2 separate regions of the Homo sapiens genome follow, and region 2 is linked to region 1. Evidence: promoter capture Hi-C in 16 types of primary human blood cells and fetal thymus (Javierre and others, 2016). All regions are on one chromosome and are shown on one strand. The core of a region is centred on a gene start or on the middle of the fragment in contact, and the rest is flanking DNA. Distances in the headings are between cores, read along the strand shown.

Region 1 (5,965 bases), core at 1,815-4,314:
CCAGTGACTGGATCTCTGGATTTTACTGTTCTACTTGCTTCCCCTTCCTCCTCCTGGCCACACACACATATGCGTGCACATGCACAAACACACACACACACACACACGCTATTGCGTCCCCAAAGCCTCACGGGTCCTGTAGCTTTTCAGAACTGATGTTCAACAAATGTATGTCAAATGAATGAATGAATGAAAATGCTAGAAAATACGAAGCAGATGCACCGAGGAAATGTTTCTTTGAAGTATCGGATATAATGGAATCTGAGAGCCTCGTGGCAATCAGCTGAGTCTAAGCAGGCATTAGGTTTTATAGGGGTGAAGTCTGACATGAAATTAACATATAAATGTAGATTTCAAACACCTAGAGCCATCTTACAAGATAGGATTTCAGAAATGTGTCCTAGAATGTGAACTGTACCAAAAAACATCCTAGTAAGTTCTAGGAGCTTTATTCTGATTTGTCCCAGAAGTTTTTAATCTTTTCTTCAACTTTGGAGCAAAGTCTGAACATCCAATTGAATGTGGAATAGGTTTCAAGCCATCAAAAACATAAGTTGATTTTTGGGTTGCATTAAAGATCTGGTAATTTGTTTTAAACTTTCATTTTTTAAGGAAAATTAAATAGAGTTGAATTTTTCATTGACAGTGAAATATATAGTAAGCCATGGATTAATACCTTCATAAAAATTTATCTAAACAAAGTGCTGCCTGTCTTATTTATGTTAAAGTCTGTAAAGTCAGCAGTGAAAAAGGGAAAGTACTTTCCTGGAATGTATTTGTATCTGTCACAAGCTGAATCTTGAGGAAATTGGCAGGCATTTGAAGTGGAATAATTCCTTAGCGTTCTGTTTAGTTTGGATTTCTTCAATTCGGGGGTGGCTTAAAACCAGAATCACCAATATTTGCTTTTAACAAGCATCTAACGTTTTCTCTTGCTTTGTGTACACTAAGTGCTCAACAAATGTTGGTTGAATTGAATCATTTTGTTCATCCTTTCTGGGGACTGTCAGGGTTATTCAGTCTATTCTTAAATATGAAAGAATTCTAAAAGAAAAACATCTCCAAAATGACCTCTCCACCAACAGTTTATCTCATTTCCAACTCCTTGTACACAAACCTGCTAGATCTGGCTTTCTGAAATGCTTCTTGGATCCCTCTTCAGTTTGCAAAATTCTATAGAGTGAGCCAGGCTCCCCAGTCGATCTCCTCACCCACTCCTATTTTCCAGGAACCTTCTGTTCTAACCACACAGGTTTCAGAGCCTGCTGGACATATTCTGCGTCTGTGTTTCCTCCCAGGACTTCTCCCACGTGGAAGGCCTTCTTTCTCAATCTCTTCGCCTGTGGAAGTCCTATTACATCTGTCAGGGCATGGCCTTAGTCTCTCACCCTCTAGGAAGATCCTCCAGCTGTCTCAGTCCTCTGGAGTGCCGTGTGCCTGTCTGCAACGTATTTGCAAACAGAAAAAAGAGTGAGAGATCTTCATACACACTGTTAGTACCCTTTACCAATGTGTGAAAACATTCAGCTGCTGTAAAATCTTTTGAAGAAAATAAGATCCAATTAGCGTTGACTTTTATGTCGGGAAAGCTGAGGGTTTCAAAGGAATGCCTTTCAGTCATTCAACAGCTTTTTTTTTTTTTTTTTTTTTTTTTTTTTTTTTTTTTGAGTGCCTGCTCTGTGCCAGGAACTGGAGGAAAAAAAAACAACAAAAAGTCAAAAAGACCTGCCTTCAGGATGCTGAAGCTCTAGTCTGTGGTGTTTCCAAGGGGCCAGGGACCATGGCTCAGAGCTGAGCAGACAGACCTGGAGCCTGTGGACAGGGAAGGTGAAAGCCTGGCTTGTGGCTCCCGGGGCTACAAGTTAGGGAGCTAGGGGGCCAGCTGGGAGGTCAGTGGTGGAAAACCTCTCACACCACGCCAGGGAGTTGACAGTGCTTTTTTTTCTTTTTTTCTTTTCTTTTTTTTTTTTTTTTTTTTTCATTTTTAGGCTGGTTATGAAGAAGAAACTCAAAATAACAGGAGTGGCTTATGGAACTACATGGAGGTAACAGAGGAGGGTACCAACCAAAGGCCCTTGAGCAATCAGGATGTTGGGTAACAGATTTTTGCTTTTAAATGACTCCTGGGTGGAGCTTCCCCAATGCATCGTCATTCCCTGACCCTTGCATCTGACCCTGTGGGTGGGACCCTCCGCCTCCACCATCCACTCAAGGCTCACCCCTGGCTCCTCCACCACCCGGCTCCTGCCCCACACCCCCGATGGCCTTTCCTCCCCTGTAAGGCGACTGAGGTGACTCAGGTCACCCTGCTCCTTCCTCGTCTCATCTCGTCCCTCCTTTCCTGCTTAGACTGTGCCAGATGACCCTTCTTGCAAAGGGGTGGGCGGGAAGGCCCCCCATGCAGCCAGGCAGTGCCTGGATTTGTAACTGGCCATCCCAGCAGCAGTGCCCTGGATGGAAAGCCACGTCCCTGTCACCCTCTCACATCCAGGGCAGTGCCTGGCAGAGCGGGGTCTGATAAACGCCAGGGAACCTCCGATTAAGTGAGGAGGAAGTGACCGTCCACGCTGTACCCACCATGCCAGGCAGTGGGACAAAAGGACCTGACTCAGGTCCAAGAGTCACTGGGCCCCTCCGGCCTAACTGATGGGTGGCCAGGGTGCGGGGTCCCTGGGGATCAAAAGCAGCTGCTAAGGGACCTCGGGGGACCTGCTTGGGGCCAGCCTGAGGCCTGACCGGGCGGAACTGCGTCGGGTGGGCTTGGGCCTACGTCGGCCCAGGCCCCACTGGAGGCCAGGCCCGTCCGGGAGGCGCTGCCTGGCGGGCCACGTCGCCCCGCGTGTTGGGCAGGGCCGCTAGGCCCAGGGGCGGCGCCGCTGGAGGCCGGGCGCGCGGGCCCTACTCGGCAGGGCCTGCTCGGGGCCGGCTTCGGGCCTGCCCGGCCGGGCCTGCCCGCACCCTTCCGCCCGGCCTGGCCGGCGCCCCCTCGCGCCCCGGGCGGGCCCTGCACGTCTCGCGAGCAGCCCGGAGCGGCGGGGGAGGCGGGGCCCGCGGGCTGCCGGGCAGGGCCGGGGCGGTGCCGAGGCCGGGCCGGAGCGGGGCGAAGGGGGCCGAGCGGCGGGCCGGGCCGGGCCGGGCAGGGCCGGGGCGTGGGCCGGCAGGAAGATGGCGAACGTGGGGCTGCAGTTCCAGGCGAGCGCGGGGGACTCGGACCCACAGAGCCGGCCCCTGCTGCTGCTCGGGCAGCTGCACCACCTGCACCGCGTGCCCTGGAGCCACGTCCGCGGGAAGCTGCAGCCCCGGGTCACCGAGGAGGTGAGCGGGCCGCCGGCCGCCATGCGACCCGCGCCGCGGAAGCCCAGGCCCGGGCGGCCCGCGGAGGCCCCGCCTCGCCCGCCGCACCCCCGCCGCCGCCGGGCCGGGCCCAACGAGGCCGGGCCGCCTCCCTGAAGGGCTCAGCCGCCAGGCCAGTCCTCGCCCGCGGAGGCCCAGCCCCAGGCCCCGTCGCCGGTGCGGCGCGGTGGTCCTCCTGTCAGCCCAGCCCTGCGCCCCGCGAGGCCGCGACACCTGCGGACGGCGGGGGGGGAGACGTGGCCGCTCCCAGGGCCGCGCGTCGGCCCCGCCTGGCGACAGGCCCTGGCTTCCAGAAGTTCCCATGGCAGTGTCCCCAGCTGCCTTTCCTTGGGGACACCTGGCCCCTGCCCCCTCTCTGGTGGAAGCCGCCTAAGCCCTATCCGAGTGTTGGAAGCAAAGCAGCCCCCAGCCTGGCCCTTCCAGGCTTGGTGGCTTCATCCCACCAGGGGGATGCGAGCCAGCCTAGAGACAGTTAGCTCTGCAGAGAGGCGACACATCTCCCTAAGGATGGGAAAACGGTGGCCGGGAGCTGCGCAGTGCCCTTCCAGGACTGCAGGAGTGGTTGTGGCCGTGGCTGCAGGGCAGGGCCTCCTGGCACGTGGCCGCTGTTTGAAGCCTCTGTGTCTTGTCTCTCCCTTCTGATCTAGCTCTGGCAGGCTGCCCTGAGCACGCTCAACCCCAACCCCACGGACAGCTGTCCCCTCTACCTGAACTACGCCACCGTGGCTGCCCTGCCCTGCAGGGTGAGCCGGCACAACAGCCCCTCGGCCGCCCACTTCATCACGCGGCTGGTGCGGACCTGCCTGCCGCCCGGAGCGCATCGCTGCATTGTGGTGAGTGCTTCGAGAGGAGGCAGCCACGGTGCTCCTAGTCGGGCAGCGGTGAGCTCGGGCCTGGGGAGCTCACAGCCCTGCTCAGACTGCAGCGCACGCCCAGAGGGCTGTGGACGTTATCATCCCTGCTCTGTAGACAGGGAAACAGGTCCAGAGAGACGCGGGGATTTGCCCCAGATCAGTTTTGGTGGCAAATCAGAGACTCAAACCTAGATTTCCTGAGGCCCACTTTGTGTCTGTCCCTCTGTCCCTCATTTTCATGGCTGGTCAGGCTGTTGACATCTGGTGGCCAATGTGTTATTTCTCTTGGAGCATGACCAATGGTGGTCCCATGGTTCCGGGGATGACCTGAGGGATGGGGTGGCGGCTGCTGTGGGACATCTCTGTCTAGATGTCACCTGCCAGGGAGCTGATGTTCCGGAGGCGTTCAAAGAGCAGCTCCCTGCACTCCCTGGTGGCGGCCCTTGCACCCCTCACGCCGTCTCCCTATGTGCCACAGATGGTCTGCGAGCAGCCGGAGGTCTTTGCTTCCGCCTGTGCCCTGGCCCGGGCCTTCCCGCTGTTCACCCACCGCTCAGGTGCCTCTCGGCGCTTGGAGAAGAAGACGGTCACCGTGGAGTTTTTCCTGGTGGGACAAGACAACGGGCCGGTGGAGGTGTCCACATTGCAGGTGGGTGTCTGGAAGGGCAGACACTGCCCCTGGGCCCGGGCAAGATCGGGCAGGTGGGAGGGAGGTCGGGAGAGGGAAAAGCTTGTTGCGGGGGCAGGAGGGGGTTCCTGCCCTTCCCAGGAGCTTTGGTTCCTGGGAAGCGGCAGAGGCTTTTCCAAACCCAGGCCCCCTGCCTCTGCCTCAGCGTGGTCTGTGACTTCAGGATTCTGTTGTATACAGGCAGTGTTTGTTGAGCACGTAATCAGTGCCAGGAACGTCCATGCTGTTTTCCAAATAACCCTGCCCGTTTATGTGAGCTCCGTGTGCACGTGTGTGATGTATGCACGTGTGTGTGTATGTGCGTGCACATGTGTGTTGCTGTGCGTGTATGAGTGTATGTGCATGTGTTGTATGTGTGGGGGGTGTGTGTGTGCATGTGTGATGTGTGTGTGTGTGTGGTATGTGTTGCTGTGTATGTTTGCTGGTGTGTGCATGAGTGGTGTGTGTGGTGTACGTGTGGTATGTGTTGCTGTGTGTGTGTGTTTGCTGGTGTGTGCATGAGTGGTGTGTGTGTGTGGTGTGCATGTGTGGTGTGTGCATGTGTGGTGTGTGTTGTTGTGTGTGAGTACTGGTGTGTGCATGAGCAGCATGTGTTGCTGTGTGTATGAGTGCTGGTGTGTGCATGAGTGGTGTGTGTGTGTGTTGTGTGTGTTGCTGTGTGTGTATGAGTGCTAGTGTGTGCATGAGTGGTGTGTGTGTGGTGTGTGTGCATGTGTGTTGCTGCACCCTTTACAGGGAGCACTTCTACATGTGTTATTTCACTCAATGCTGAGAATGATCCTTTTGAGGCTGCAAGGCCGGAAGTGATTTCCCAGCTCCAGATCCTTGGATGGGCCTGACATCAGGCTCCTGTCCCCACGGCAGCGGTCCCAGCCTCTGCGCCTGCCACCTCCAGTCCCCGAGCCCACAGCGCCACCCAGGTTGTCTTTTCTCATGTGTCAGCGCTCATTCTTCACTTCTGGCTCTGGAAGGCTGTCGCCTTCACCCAGGCAAGCTCTCCCACATCAGCACTTGGGCCACACCTCATTTCTTTCACTGTGTGCTCTCTGAGGCCTGTAACCACTGCCCC
Region 2 (6,680 bases), core at 2,166-4,665, 210 kb before region 1:
ATTCACAATACCGTGCAAACACCAACACGATCTCATTCCAGAATGTTGTCATCACCTCAAAAGGGGACCCTGTGCCCATCAGCAGTCACTCCCGCTCCCCTCTCCTCTTAGATCTCGGCAACAATGACTCCGCTTTCTGTCTCTGTGGATTTGCCTATTCTGGATATTTCATAAAGATGGAATCCCACACTCTGTGCCCTTCTCTTACCTCCCTTCCCCAGCAATTCTCCTAGATGGGTGTGGTTATTCCAGTTTGCAGATGAACAGTGGAGGCCTAGAGAGGCTTCACTCCTGGGGCCACAATTTATGTTTTCTTCAAAGATCATGAAAAACGCAGGTATGGATCAAAGAGAGAAGAGGGTGGAGAAAAGATGTGAGTTTTGTAGTCAGAGCAGAGGGAGAAATATCAGCTTTTCAGGTACCTTTCTTCTGGGGGTAAAAAGCAAAAGAAAAGTACTTTTTTCTCCTGTAATCTGCTTGTTCTGAGGTTCTCGAAGCAAGGCACGAACGAACACAGGGTGGGGTGCGAGGTGATTTCAGGCGCGAAGCGAGCACTTCGTATTCCAACAGTCACGCGTCGGTTTTAGAGGGTGTTAAAAGTGGCGGTAGTTATCATAACAGCCTTGTACTTGCATGGCCCGTTTTTCTGAGGACTGAGTTTTAAAAGGTGATTGATCTGAACTTGATATTAAAATATTTGGTATTTTAATTATTTTCTTTTAATATTTTAATAAAATCATATTTTATAAGGAGATGTACAAGGGACTCGTGGGTGTGGTAAATGGCCTGAGGGTGGTGCACGGAAGACGGAGGGAGGAGCAGCTCAAGGTGAACTCGTCACCTCACCTGAGGCACGCGAAAGGAGAGCATCTGGGCATCTCAGGGCTGCCACGACAAAGACCACACGCTGAGTGGCTGAAGCAACAGGAGTCGATCCTTTCCCAGTCTGGAGTCTGCAAGTCTGAAGTTTGAAATCAAGGTGTGGGTAGGGCCTCTCCCAGCACCTGGTGGCTCCAGGTGTCCCTTGGCTTGGGGCTGCATCACGCTGGTCTCTACCCCCATCTTCCCATGGCCTTCATCCCTACTTGTGTGTTTCCTCTGTCTGCACCTGTGTCCAAATCTCCCTCTCCTTTCTTTTATAAAGGCACCAATCCCTGGATTAGAGCCCACCCTAATCCTAATCCAGTGTGACTTCATCCTAACTTGATTACATCTGCAAAGACCCTATATCCAAATAAGGTCCTATTCCCAGGTACTGGGGGTTAGGACTCGAACATATCTTTTTTGGGGGGTTACATTCAACCCACAGCAGATAACAAGGGCCATCCAAAATTGAGGTCCCCCAGGTGACCCAACTATCATTCATTCATTCATTTCTTCTCCCCAACACAAACACTTATTTTTATTTATTTATTTATTTTGAGACGGAGTCTTGCTCTGTCGCCCAGGCTGGAGTGCAGTGGTGCAATCTCGGCTCACTACAACCTCTGCCTCCCAGGTTCAAGCAATTCTCCTGCCTCAGCCTCCTGAGTAGCTGGGACTACAGGCGCATGCCACCATGCCCTGCTAATTTTTGTATTTTTAGTAGAGACAGGGTTTCACCATGTTAGCCAGGATGATCTTGATCTCCTGACCTCGTGATCCACCCACCTTGGCTTCCCAAAGTTCTGGGATTACAGGCGTGAGCCACTGCGCCCTGCCCCAAATACTTATTGAATGCCTGTTGTATGCCTGGAAATGAAATGGACTCTGGGTCTATATGGCTGCACATGATGGTCAGAATTCCTGTTCTCCTGGAGAGACTGACATTAATCAAATAGACTCACATCAGAGTAGAACTTCAAACCATCCCAAGTGTCTTGATGGAAATTTAAACAATGGCCAACAACTTCAATGATTTCCCAGTGCACTTGGTTCAATATCCAAGCTTTCTTGTGTAGCCTCGAAGCCCTTTGAAACTGGGTGCCTTTTTACCACCAGATCATCCACCCCATCCCACCGTGCTTTTCCACTGTGAGTCCCTAGTGCTGAAAGGGCAAACCTTTGGCTGCCTTGAGGCTATTGCCTGTGCTGTTCCATCCTCTGCTCTGTGCTGGGCTCTCCATCTTCGCGGAGATCTCGGCATAAATGGCATTTCCTGGCAGTGCATCCTTTCCAGGCACCCCTCTTCTGTTCACTCCATTCTCTTCTCTCCTGTGCAGCACTCATCACATCTGGCATTTATTATCTGCTTTCTTACTTCGGTTTACTTTTTTGACTTTTCATTCTGAAATAATTTCAGACTTACAAAAATGTTGCAAAAGTGGTAGAAAGAGTTCTAGTGTATGCTTTGTCCAGTTTCTCTACAGGTTAACATCTTACGCAGACATTGTGCAATGATCAGAACCAGGACGTTAACATCAATACAGTGTTCTTAACGAGTCTACAGACCTAATTCAAGTTTCATCCATTGTCCCATTAATGTCCCCTTTCTGGTCCAGCATCCAGTCCAGGATCCTGCATTGTATTGAGCTGTCATGTCTCCTTCAATCTGAGACATATCTTCTCTTTTTGTCTTCTACGACTTTGACACTTTTGAAGAGTAGTGGCTCTTATTTTGTAGTGTCCTTAGTTTGGGATGGTCTGATGTTTCCTCGTGAGTAAATTCTGCTCATGCGTTTCTGGTAAGAATGTTGTGGAAGCGATGGTGTATCTTTCCCAGTGCATCATCTCAGGAGGCACACCATGGCAATCATGCCATTCCTGGTGATCTTGACTGTGATCACTTGCTTAAGGAGGCATCTACCATGTTTCTCCACTATTAAATTACTACTTTTCTCTCTGTGATTAATGATTACCTTATGGGGATATACTCAGAGATAACAGAAATATCTTGTACTTCATTATACATTCCCTCACTAATTTTAGCATCTATTGATAACTGTCAATGATTCTTGCCTACAATTATTATTGGTGGTGTTTTCCAAATGGTCATTCTCTAGTTCCATCACTCTTTCTGAGTTTATTTTTGTTTTTAGAGATGGGGTCTCACTATGTTGCCCAGGCTGGTCTTGAACTCCTGAGCTCAAGAGATCTGCCTGTCTCAGCCTCCCAAAGTGCTGGGATTTCAGGCATGAGCCACTATGCCCAGCTCTTTCTGAGTTGATTAACAGTAATTGTGCTGTAAAGATGTACTGTCCCTTCTCTCCCATTTATCTTTTTATTCAATTATTTATATTACTATGAACTCCTGAATATTTATTTTACTTTATCGGTTATAACACATTACTATCATTATTTATTTTGTTGCTCAAATTGTCCCTGATTTGGCCATTGGGAGCTCCTCCAGTTAATCTCCTGTGTCCTTCCTGTATGTCTTTGTCATTTTAGGGGGAGTACTTCCTCATTTCCTGGTGCCAGAAGATCTTCCAGGATCATTTTGTATTTTTTTCAGTCCCATCCCTGAAACTGGCCATTTCTCCAAGGAGCTCTGATTCCTTTTATTGGAAAATGGTGTTTAGAAACCAAGATCTGGGTGCTAGGTGTGCTCACTGCTAGTGGGCTGTCACTTTAGGCTTCTTAACTTTTTCTTTTCTCCTTCCTTCCTTCCTTCCTTCCCTCTGTCCTTTCTTCCTCCCTCCTTCCTTCCCTTTTCCCCTTCCCTTCCCTTCCCTCATTTCTCCCTTCCTCTGCCTGTGACTCCACGAGTCTGCCAGCCTCATGAGGGCTGGGTCCTCATCTCTCTTGCTCACTGCTGATTCTCTAGCACCTGGCACAGTGCCTCAGGGATGCCCAATACATATTTGTTGTGTTAAGTCATGGAAAGTGCTTAGGACAATGCCTTCATAGACTAAGTGCTCAGTAAATGCTATTTATAATGACTACTTTTCGCTGAATGAATGAATGGCTTGTGGTCCATAGCAGCACGTGTGTGACTTCCTTGTTGACCCTTCTCCCACCCCTCAGGATGTGGCCATTACAGTCAGGCTTGAAGCAGGAGAGGAGAAAGACAAGGTTTACAGCTGTTGGGATTGCCAAGAATCTGGCTGAGGGCAAAAGGGTGATCAGTCAGGGAGTTCCCAGCAGGCTGGGGGCCCAGGCTGATCCAAGCAGGTAGAGAGGAAAGAGAAGTAGGTGAAGGGAGATTGGTGTGTGAGCATCAGATCATGTCACAGGCTTAGATGGGTTGGATCTGGCCTAAGAAGCGAATGCCAGGTGCTTTGCTTTAAAGCCTCTTTTCACCCTTGGAACCTGCCCTAGTGAAACCAGGATCCTGACATGGTCCTGCACCCCCAAGGAAGCCTCCACTAGCTCCACAGTCACATAATGCAAGCCATAAATGTCAGCCCTGCATGTGATTTTACTGGTGCATGTTTTCTAGTAGCCATGTTAAAAAAGCTAAAAAGAGACAGGTAAAATCAATTTTAATGATATATTTTATCCGGCTCCAAGTACTATATATTTCAACATGTAACAAATACAACGATTAATGAGATATTTTATGTGCTTTTCCCCCCCATACCAAGTCTTCAGAACTTGGTGTATATTTTATACTTACAGCACAACTCAATTTAGACAGGTCACATTTCAGGTGCCCTGTGACTACATGGCCAGATTAGACAGCAGAGCTCTAGCTCAAGGATGGAGCATGCATGTCACATTTTGCTGTATCAGAGGTTTTCAAGTTGGCTTCTGAAGACCCTGGGGTTATTTTTGAAACAGATAGGGCAACCCAGTGGGTAGGATGTAGTCTTTGACCCAGCTTTAGCCCAAACAGTCCCTATCTGTTGCTCTGTTTTATATACTGAGGTTTGGATTAAGATTTGCTTTTTTTTTTTTTTTTTTTCTTAAAATATCTGAAACCCTCTAGTTTATTTCAAAACCGTCAGCTTGAGGTAATTCACCTAGAAAGTTTGGACTTGGAGGAAGCTTACACATATTTTAAATAAAAATTTCAGCAATGGCTCCCTACCCAAAAAATAACCTCTCTTGATTAGAGGAGGCTGCCTTTTACAAATGGAGGAGATATGCTGGCTGCGATGGTGGCCCTGGCTGCGTGGCCATTAAGCTTCAGAGACCGGCTGTGGAAATGGAGCCATTCCAGCACTGCTGCAGCCAAAGATGTACTTTCCAATGAAGTCACTGCACAAAAGGCATGCAGGGTTTGCACCAGAACACCCCCAGAAGGCTGCAGATTGGATGCTATGACTGGATGCTGCATCAACAAACACAGAAATATGAAGACACACTTTGCATTCTAAGAAGCCCACCTCCAACCTCTGGTGTGAATGGCTGGTCCTCAGATACCTCACATGTCTCTCATTTGGCTATAATGGAATCTCCTCATCCACCTAATCCGAGAATCTTCGTGTTCAGGGCTGGCAGGCAAGTTGGGGAATGGGTTGGACTTTGCTACCTTGGGAAACACAGAAATTATATGCTCTAAACAAAGCACCCTCCACCCGCCGCAGCCTTCAGCATCCCAGCCCTGTGGAATGTGCCCTCCTCTGCTCAGTGCACTCAGAGAGTTGAAGGCTGCCCGAGAAAGTCAGTCAAGGGGTACCTGGCAGAGCAGGTCTGAGGATGTGAGAAGCAGAAGGGCCTTTGGATTAAGAAGCTGCGGGTTGACAGGTGATCAAAGGGACAGGGTTTGGTTAGCTACTGGCCCCCCAGTTCTCCATGAAAAGTCTCAGGTCAGTCTGGACCACGGGATGGAGGACAAAGGTGGGCCTTGCTTGGTACCACCTGGAGAAGGTGACTGCTTCATGTTTGTGTGACATGTGCTTAAGCCACAATGGAAAACGCTGCGTATGAGGAAGCGGCTGGCCACTGAGGATAACTCCCCGAGGCCTCTGCTTAGCCACTCCTGCTGAGGGAAAGGAAGTGCACAGTTCACAGAATGGGAAAGGAATGGGGGCCTGGGGAGACGAGTTCTGGCCCACCAAGCCTGGCTCATAAGCTAGGTTTTTCTGTTTGTTTGTTTAGGAATGTTCCAGAACGAAAACTGTGCACATGAAAACTCTCCCTTGGCCTCATGATAATGCTAATTATTCTTGCTCTGGCTGGAGCTCCCACCCAGTTGGAAACTGGAACATCCCAGCCACAGGCCAGCTGCTTCCAAAGAGCCAAGGAAGCAGGGTGACAGATGGAAGCGTTTCCCTTTTCACCCAGATGTTCCGGTGTTTTGGAGACAAGGCCTCGTTAACTTGACTTTAGCACCTGCGTTCCCAGCTTGCACGTTGGTCTGTAGACATTATTTATACCAAACTTGGCCAATGCTGTCCACTGATGCCAACATCCCACCTGGTGCTTGGAGGAGCCGGTGAGGGGATGATGACAGCTTGTAGCATCACTGCGTAGAAGGGGTTCTGAATGTGCCCAGATCTCACTGAATGTCCTGTTGCCTGCCCTAAGCGGTGTAGTTAGGAGTCAGTGTTTTCCAAACAGAATGTGTATCTGGGAGTCTCCCGTTGGACTGAACTTTTATTAGCTCTCTTGGCAGAAGGCTGAAGCTTTTATTGTTCTATAGAACAGGACTTCGGCAAGATAATCACAAGGTTTTGACACATTCAATAAGAACGAAGGTGTTCGTATACATCATGGCGAAGACCCCTCAGAACCCAGAAAGGGTGCCTGAGAGGGACTCCTGGGATGCCCCCTTGAGCGGCTGAACTCTTCATGGCCTTGGCAACTGGTTCTCC

What was found. Contacts are between HindIII fragments. The CHiCAGO score rates a contact against its expected background, and 5 or more counts as called.
Region 2: a fragment that was not itself captured here is called in contact with the fragment with the promoter of NPEPL1 in region 1 in 1 of 17 cell types (endothelial precursors); the score reaches 6.8 in endothelial precursors.

What each region holds. Positions count from the first base shown.
Region 1 is chr20:58,689,736-58,695,700 of GRCh38, forward strand. It overlaps NPEPL1 (aminopeptidase like 1), which reads left to right and starts at 3,065. Exons shown (of 12, transcript NM_024663.4): 1 at 3,065-3,315; 2 at 4,002-4,187; 3 at 4,687-4,857. The coding sequence starts at 3,166. It overlaps STX16-NPEPL1 (STX16-NPEPL1 readthrough (NMD candidate)), which reads left to right. Exons shown (of 23, transcript NR_037945.1): 9 at 1,299-1,492; 10 at 1,670-1,827; 11 at 1,989-2,045; 12 at 4,002-4,187; 13 at 4,687-4,857. RefSeq lists enhancers at 2,498-3,203, 4,644-5,251 and silencers at 2,701-3,190, 3,201-3,360, 3,391-3,470, 3,491-3,580. The HindIII fragment of the contact is 11,943 bases long and covers 1-4,936 here.
Region 2 is chr20:58,474,788-58,481,467 of GRCh38, forward strand. The region is part of intron 1 of APCDD1L (APC down-regulated 1 like); the gene reads right to left. Among named protein-coding and RNA genes, the nearest start is that of APCDD1L-DT, 37 kb to the right of the region's middle. The HindIII fragment of the contact is 2,981 bases long and covers 1,926-4,906 here.